2 separate regions of the Homo sapiens genome follow, and region 1 is linked to region 2. Evidence: promoter capture Hi-C in 16 types of primary human blood cells and fetal thymus (Javierre and others, 2016). All regions are on one chromosome and are shown on one strand. Each heading gives the region's core, a stretch centred on a gene start or on the middle of the fragment in contact. The rest is flanking DNA. Distances are from core to core; before and after follow the strand shown.

Region 1 (4,047 bases), core at 1,108-3,607, 290 kb before region 2:
AAAGGAGACACTACAAGCTTATGGAGCAATTGGATACAGGACAAGGGGCTGTCGCTCTCAATTAGGAATCATCTCTTGAACAAACATTTTTGTAAAGAAGATACACAAATGGCCAACAGCATGCGGACATATGCTCAACATCACTAGTCTACAGGGAAACGCAAATCAAAACCACAATGAGATACACCTCACACCCATTGGGATGGTCATCAATTTAATAAAGCAAAATAGAAAATAACAAATGTTGGAGAGGATGTGGAGAAACTGGAACCCTTGGGCACTGTTGGTAGAAATGTAAAATGGTGCAGCTGCTATGGAAAACAGTAGGGATGGCTCCTCAAAAAATGAAAAATAGAAGTACCCTATGATCTGGCAATACCACCTATAGGTATATACCCTGAACAACTGGGAATAGGGTCTCGAGGAGATATTTAGACATCCATGTTCATAACAGCATTATTCATGATAGGCAAAAGGTTTTGGAAATAACCCGTGCCTTTTGATGTATGAATGGATCAACAAAAGGTGATCTACACAGACAATAAAATGTTATTTAGCCTTAAAAAGGAAGGCAGCCAAGCGTGGTGGCCCACTTCTGTAATCCCAGCACTTTGGAAGGCCAAGGCAGGCAGATCACCTGAGCCCAGGAGTTTGAGACCAGCCTGGCCAACATGGTGAAACCCTGTCTCCATAAACAAATACAAAAATTAGCTGGGTGAGGTGGCACACACCTGTAGTCCCAGCTACTTAGGAGGGTGAAGTAGGAGGATCACTTGAACCCAGAAGGTGGAGGTTGCAGTGAGCCAAGATTGCACCACTGAACTCCAGCCTGGGCGAGAGAGACCCTGTCTTAAAAATTAAAAAAAAAAAAAAAAAAAAAAAGGAAGGAAATTCTGATACACGCTACAACATGGATGAACCTTTTTTTTTTTTTTTTTTTTTTTTTCTGAGACAGAGTTTTGCTCTGTTGCCCAGGCTGGAGTGCAGTGGTATGATCTCGGCTCACTGTAACCTCCACCTCCCAGGTTCAAGAGATTTTCCTGCCTCAGCCTCCCAAATACCTAGAATCACAGACACAAAACACCACATCTGGCTAATTTTTGTATTTTTAATAGAGATGGGGTTCCGCCATGTTGGCCAGGCTAGTCTCAAACTCCTGACCTCAGGTGATCCGCCTGCCTCGGCCTCCCAAAGTGCTGGGATTACAGGCATGAGCCACCACACACAGCCAACATGGATGAACCTTGAGGCCATTATGCTAGGTAAAGTAAGCCAGACACAAAAGGACAAATATATATGATTCCACTTATATGAAGTACTAGAGTGGTTAAATTCATGGAGACAAAAAGTAGTGGTTGCCAGTGGCTGAGGAAAACGGGGAAGGGGAAGTTGTTTAATGAGTACAGAGTTTCAGTTTAGCAGATGAAAAGAGCTCTTGGGTGAATGACGGTGGGGATGGTTATACAACATTGTGAGTGTACTGAATGCCGCTGAACTGCACACTTAAAAATGGCGGAGACTACAAACTGACTTCCGTGTATGCTGCTCGAGTGAAGGGTGCACCAAATTCTCACAAATCACAACTAAAGAACTTACTCATGTAACTAAATACCACCTGTTCCCCAAAAACCTATGGAAATATAAAAATATTTTCCAAAATGGTTAAGATAGTAAATGTATGTGCATTTTACAATTTTTTTTAAAAAAGAAACTGTCTCAAAGTGACAATAGCGTCCCTTTGAAAGATGCTGCTAGACCAACTAAAAATGGTCAAATATACACGTATTTGGTTATAAGAAGCTCATTCCTATCTGCAAGACCTGTCTAAGTTGACTGGTGCATTTGTCATACTTGTCTAGGCTTTTCACCTTTGTCTCAGTTGACAAAGAAATCTTTAAAATCAGGAGACCTTTAAAATAAGGTTAGGAAACATGTCCACAGAGCCAGAAACACAGCCATGGATCAAAGGAATCACATTATTATTATTATTATTATTATTCCTTTTTTTTTTTTTTGAGATGGAGTCTCCGCCTGTCACCAGGCTGGAGTGCAGTGGCGTGATCTTAGCTCACTGCAACCTCCACCTCCCAGGTTCAAGCAATTCTCCTGCCTCACCCTCCCAAGTAGCTGGGACTACAGGCATGTGCCACCATGCCTAGCTAATTTTTATATTTTTAGTAGAGACAGGGTTTCACCACGTTGGCCAGGATAATCTCAATCTCTTGACCACGTGATCCACCCGCCTCGGCCTCCCAAAGTGTTGGGATTACAGGCGTGAGCCAGCGCGCCGGGTCAGGAATCACATTATTAAATGGTGCCGTTAGCTTCATAACATTCCATTTATTTATAGTAATTAATTTATAAATGACTTCTCCTAATCAATAAAATGGCCTAAGGGGTAACACTTTGGAATTTCCAGCTTCAAATGATACTTTCAGGTTTCAGAGGGAAATTGAGGGAGAGGGAGTTCCTACCTTGTAGATGCAGGACTTCGCGTTCAGAAAGAAAAGCTCAATGGTAGCATTATCCTTCAGGTATGAAATGCTTTCTATATAGAACCTGAAAGAGAAAAATGGTGCGTGAACCACAGAAACAGCAGGTGCAGAAAATAAAGTGCTCTCTTGAGCTACATGATTTGAGATGAAAGCTGGCATTCCCCATCCTAAATAAACAAAGGAAAAAGGCACCATCCATGGTTTTTCTATGATTCCCTAGGGAGGACAAACTGTTTTTGGAGTTTTGATAGTGGCTTAGGGTCACGCCTAATGGGCCTCACCATAACCAAAGAACTGGGTCTACCACCAATTTGTAAGAACAAATTCTAAAACTAGGCCTCTGATTTCTTTGTCCTATCTGCTTTATAATTTTACATAATGTTATTTGTTTTCATCACATTGCTTGTTTGTCCTAAATTGTCATTGAGTTGGATTTTCTTTTCTTCTCCTTTTTTTTCTTTTTTTAGACAGGGTCTCGCTCTGTTGTCCAGGCTGGAGTGCAGTGGTGCATGGCTTACTGCAGCCTTGACCTCCCAGGCTCAAGCAACCTTCCCGCCTCAGCTTCCTGAGCAGCTGAGACTACAGTTGCATACCACCACGCCTAATTTTTTTTTTTTTTTGTAGATACGGAGTCTTCCTTTGTTGCTCAGGCTGGGCTCAAATTATCTGCCCACCTCAGCCTCCCGAAATGCTGGGGTAATAGATGTGAGCCACTGTGCCCAGCCAAGTTGGATTTTTAAAAGATAATTTCTTCTTAATCACAGCTTTCTTTGAAATGGTTACTACTACTCCCGAAGGTGGTGAAGTGTGATTTGATTTCTGCACATTCGGAGAGCTATGCTAAGTGCTCTTAACACTGTGATATGAATGCATATTAAGCCAAATGAGAATCGGATTTCATCTAGATGGAGCTTATAGATATTTTCAAGATGAAACATGCTGCCATTATTTAAGTTTACACTAAATGTGCCTTTATAATATTGACTTTGGAGTTTATTAAATTCTTTAATGAGATAATGCGCTTGTACTGTCTAATGACCAGCCGCACTGAAGGACTAGGAGTTGAAAGGAAGAGAGGGGAAAGGTTGAAATGCAACATCTTGGAGGGAAGAAGGTTCTGAGCAGGTGTAGCAACCCTTAGGGTGGACTAGGAGGGTGCTGGGTACCTGGGGCTCTTGGAAACTGGGTTCACCAAGAAGAGGCAGAAGGTGAGGAAGGTGAAATGAGAAGAAACAAGTACTACAGTTTTCTAGAATAGTGTTATAATCTGAGGGCCAGAATCCTCTGGAGGGAGTCAGAGAGCAGTGATGGAGTCCCCAGCTCTGTGTGACTCAGGGCAGTCACATCATCCTGCTGGGCTTCTGTTCTTCAGACCGTAAAAGAAGAAGTGGTTCTCTACCTAAGAAGTCCACTGGTTTTTAAATATTGGAAACTGACTACAATGTAAACAACAACAGCAGCAGCAAAAACAAGAGACCAACATCGTATAAGGTGAACAAACTGATGCCCTTAGCTTCAAGAAGTTCTATTCATTTATAGTAATTAATTTAAA
Region 2 (4,078 bases), core at 3-2,502:
TAATAGCTTTAGAAATAGAGAAAAGAAACAAAAACAAGACATACACTACGAGAACCCCTTGTAACCTGCACCCTTACCAGCTGTCCAGGAAACCCAGGGTACCTCCATCTCTCAGCTCAGAGGTTGGTGACAGGTGGTGTCTTTTATTCATATGCCCTCCCTGGGGCTCTTAATAATTGGTGTATTTCTTGTAGTCCCTTTAGTAGGCTGGGGGCAGTAGTGGGAGTGAGGGCGAGTTGGATGCTGGCTTGTTAATGGAGCTGAAGGGAGGGCTACAAGGTGACAGATGGGATGAAGCTGGAAGCTTCTTTGGTGGGAAGGGAGGGTGTTCTAGGTCATGAAGAATTAGATCCATTGAGTTGCTGCAAGAAATGTCCCATTCCTTGAGTTCCTAGGTGATTGACTTAATCTGCCCATCAGTCTTTGTGTGGTTGGTTTTGTGGTTGTGTGGATAAATCTAGACACCAAGGACCCTGGATATACCCTCCCAAAGCAAAATAACACTGGGGGCTGGGGTCACTTATTACTTGGCTGGTGTCCATGATGGGAAAGATCTCAGGGATGATGGCTGATGTTGTTGGCATTGTCTTTGCTTGTCCAAGGGCTGCTGTAGAAGAAGCGAACGGAGTGAGGGGAAGTCCAGGGGTATGAATGTGTCGTGTTCATGGGTTTTTCACCACCACCGGGATCCTGTTGTGACCTACCCACTGGTCAAGATGAAATCCCTAATAACTTAGGTGTTAAAAGACTGGAGGTTGCCCTGTATAAATTGGGTCACCAAAAGTTCCTTTTAAATTTTGCATAGGGCGGTGGCTCATGTCTGTAATCCCAGCACTTTGGAAGGCTGAGGTGGGAGGATCACTTGAGGGCAGGAGTTCAAGACTAGACTGGGCAACATAGTGAAACTCTGGTTCTACTAAAATACAAAATTTAGCCAGGCATGGTGGTGTGTGCCTGTAATCCCAGCTACTCGGGAGGCTGAGGCAGGAGAATTGCTTGAAACCTGGAGGCAGAGGCTGAACAGAGCTGAGATCGTGCCCCTGCACTCCAGCCTGGATGACAGAGCAAGATAGTCTCAAAAAAAATTTTTTTTGTTTCATATGTAGTACCATAGCACCAAGAAAGTGCTTAGGTGGTAAGTACAAAGGTGGCCAAGGTGAGTTCTGACAGTACAGAATGGGGTTTCCATGGAGACGGCAAATAATGAAGCAGTGGATGGGGGAGGGGGATGTATGCTCCAAGGTTGTGCCCACTCGGCACGACCCAGGTTCCATGCTACAGGCCTCTACTTGTCCAGACCTGAGGGTCAGATTCAGATGGTGCAAATGTTTAAGACCTGGGTCTTCAACGAGATGAATTATCAGCTATTTCATAGCTGCAGTGTTGGATATGCCGAGACGATAAAAGCAACAGCAATCAGAATCAACAGTTGAAACGACATGGCAGACGCTGTGAATGCTATGAACTGCTGTGCTGAGCAGCAGGATTCCTGTGTCCTGGCGCAATGCCCATGGGGATTCATGCTTTCAGAGGGTCACGCCTCAGGAACACGTAGAAGGGCAAGCATTTCATCTGGCAGGGCACTGATTTAATCTGCACGCATGTTTGGCTGTAAAACTAGCTCCTCCCCCTTACCATTTTTGAGTCGCTGCCGGACTCAAATTCCACAGATTCTGGAAGGTGTCCAGGAACTCGTTGATTTGTCAAACTTATGGCTACACACAGCTGGAATGGAGACGGACTCCACTGAGGAGACTCATACAGGACAGGAGGGAATTTTAAGAGGATAACCCTGGTAAGCCATGGTGGATTGGGTGATGGGAGGCTGTGTAAGAAAAGCTCTCTGACCTTGACTTCCAGGAATTTACTCTTAGATGGTTTAATCTAGATACTACCAGAGCTTGTAATACAGAAAATCCTGCAGGTAGGGAGAAGAGATTACCCAGAATTAGTTGACAGTCTATGTTTCATAGAGTAGAATCAAAGAAAGATGTCCTTATGAATTAAAAAAGCAAGCAAACTATGGTAACTTGAACCAGTTTCCAGTGCTAACGTAGCACTGCCAAGAAAAGACACTGTAAGGTCACCACTGGTCACTAGATACAGCTTGTTTTAAGTTACAATCACATTTACATAAAAACAATAAATGGTCTACATCACCTTGAAAAATGGTTTTTCCTTCCAGTTGTAAGCACTTTATGTCCTGGTGAAATGCTGCTCATCTGATTATTTTACTATATTGAGAAGAGGAAAGGGGAGGACATATTATTTTCTTAACACCTAATGGATCCAGACACATGTTAAATGCTTGACCTCCACAACCATGTTTAACTGTTAGAACAACATGATGTGTGTGTGGTTTATTATTTCTATTTTCCAAATCAGGAGACCAAGGTCTATAGAGATTACGTAGCCTTCCTGGGCACTAGGAACAGGGACAGAACTGGAACCTGTGCCTATCTCTTTCTGTCGTTGCTCCTTCCAACATATCATGTTGCTTCTCAAAACCAACAGTGAAAAAGTATTCTTTAGCCTAACCTGAGCTGAAATGGCTTAGATATGAAAGCGTAAAGTTTCACTGGCTGTGCATGATGCAAATTTCTTAAATATAGGCAAATATAAGCATGTGTGGGTATAATTTCTGTATTATGTGTATACCTTTATATCCATATGCTGTATAGTATGTGTGTATACATATAGTGTGTGTGTATATTTTATATTTATACACACACATATGTATATGCACACACACACACATATATATAAACCATTAATCTAGGAATCAACAAACCACATCTGATGATATTTCTGCATTGTCATAAAGCCGGAGAGAGAAGCTTCCCCCAGTTACAGGAAGAGATTGTGTGATTGTGTCTGTGCTTGCTTTTTCCTAATGTCTGCATGTTGGACAGAACTTGGCCTAACTCTCATGTTCATGGTAATGTAGCATCTATTTTGAACCACAGGAGGATGGAACATTGACCAGAAGAACCTGACCTTAGTTGATGGCAACTCTGTTTTATTTCCGCTGCTCACCTGGGCCTCTGAATAACCGGGTTTCATTACTACAAGGCTGGCTCACTATGCACCCCTTCACCTGTTCATTTGCCCAGTGTGTGTCTAACCCAGCCATCCACAGCTATGTCATGAAGACCTGTGCATGGATCCCCACCTGCCTTTCCCATGTTACCTGCGAGCTTACCAAAGACTTGGGATTTTTCCAGCATGGTGAAAGATGAAAATGTGCTTGGGTTTACTTTGTCATTTCCAGGGCTGGGTTAAAGCCATCATGTAATGAAGCCAGATCCACATTAAAATGTGGATCATGGCCAGGTGTAGTGGCTCATGCATGTAATCCCAGCACTTTGGGGGGCCGAGGCAGGTGGATCATGAGGTCAGGAGATCGAGACCATCCTGGCTAACACAGTGAGACCCTGTCTCTACTAAAAATACAAAAAATTAGCTGGGTGTGGTGGTGGGAGCCTGTAGTCCCAGCTACTCGGGAGGCTGAGGCAGGAGAACCGCGTGAACCCGGGAGGCAGAGCTTGCAGTGAGCTGAGATCACGCCACTGCACTCCAGCCTGGGCGACAGAGCGAGACTCCGTCTCAAAAAAAAAAAAATGTGGATCATTGTTAGATGCATTACTATGAACTTTGGGGTGGGGGAAAGGGTCAACGTGGAAAAACATCCAGGCATTTCCCTTTTTCTACACTTGTCTGTATCTCTCCCCAATAATTCATTACTTGATTACTTTCCTCATTCATTCATTCCACAGATATTCCCTGGCCATTGAAATCAACTACTTGTGTCAGAATACAAAGCTACATGAGATGTGGTCCTTGTCCTCAATAAGCACACAAGTCAGGGAGTTGGAGGGGAGATTATGAGTAAGGAAGAGATACAGAGGTGAAGAGGGGAGGTGTCCAAGCTGGAGGGTTCTCAAGGGAGAGGGAAGAGTCTGGAGGCTTACAGAGAAGATAGCTCTTGGGGGTTTTGCCCTTTGAGCCTCTCACAGAGGTCCTGGGCCAAGGAGGACTTTGCGTTTTCCATCAGGGTCAGCCTGGTGTCACCCAAACA

The links. The method cuts DNA at HindIII sites, captures the fragments that hold promoters and counts their contacts. A CHiCAGO score of 5 or more calls a contact.
Region 1: a fragment that was not itself captured here is called in contact with the fragment with the promoter of FRMD4A-AS3 in region 2 in 2 of 17 cell types (activated CD4 T cells and endothelial precursors); the score reaches 6.1 in activated CD4 T cells.

Annotation. Positions count from the first base shown.
Region 1 is chr10:13,780,448-13,784,494 of GRCh38, forward strand. FRMD4A (FERM domain containing 4A) reads right to left here. Exons shown (of 25, transcript NM_018027.5): 6 at 2,475-2,559. Among named protein-coding and RNA genes, the nearest start is that of PRPF18, 200 kb to the left of the region's middle. The HindIII fragment of the contact is 4,685 bases long and covers 16-4,047 here.
Region 2 is chr10:14,073,032-14,077,109 of GRCh38, forward strand. FRMD4A-AS3 (FRMD4A antisense RNA 3) reads left to right here and starts at 1,253. Exons shown (of 3, transcript NR_120638.1): 1 at 1,253-1,795. All of the region lies in intron 2 of FRMD4A (FERM domain containing 4A), which reads right to left. The HindIII fragment of the contact is 2,533 bases long and covers 303-2,835 here.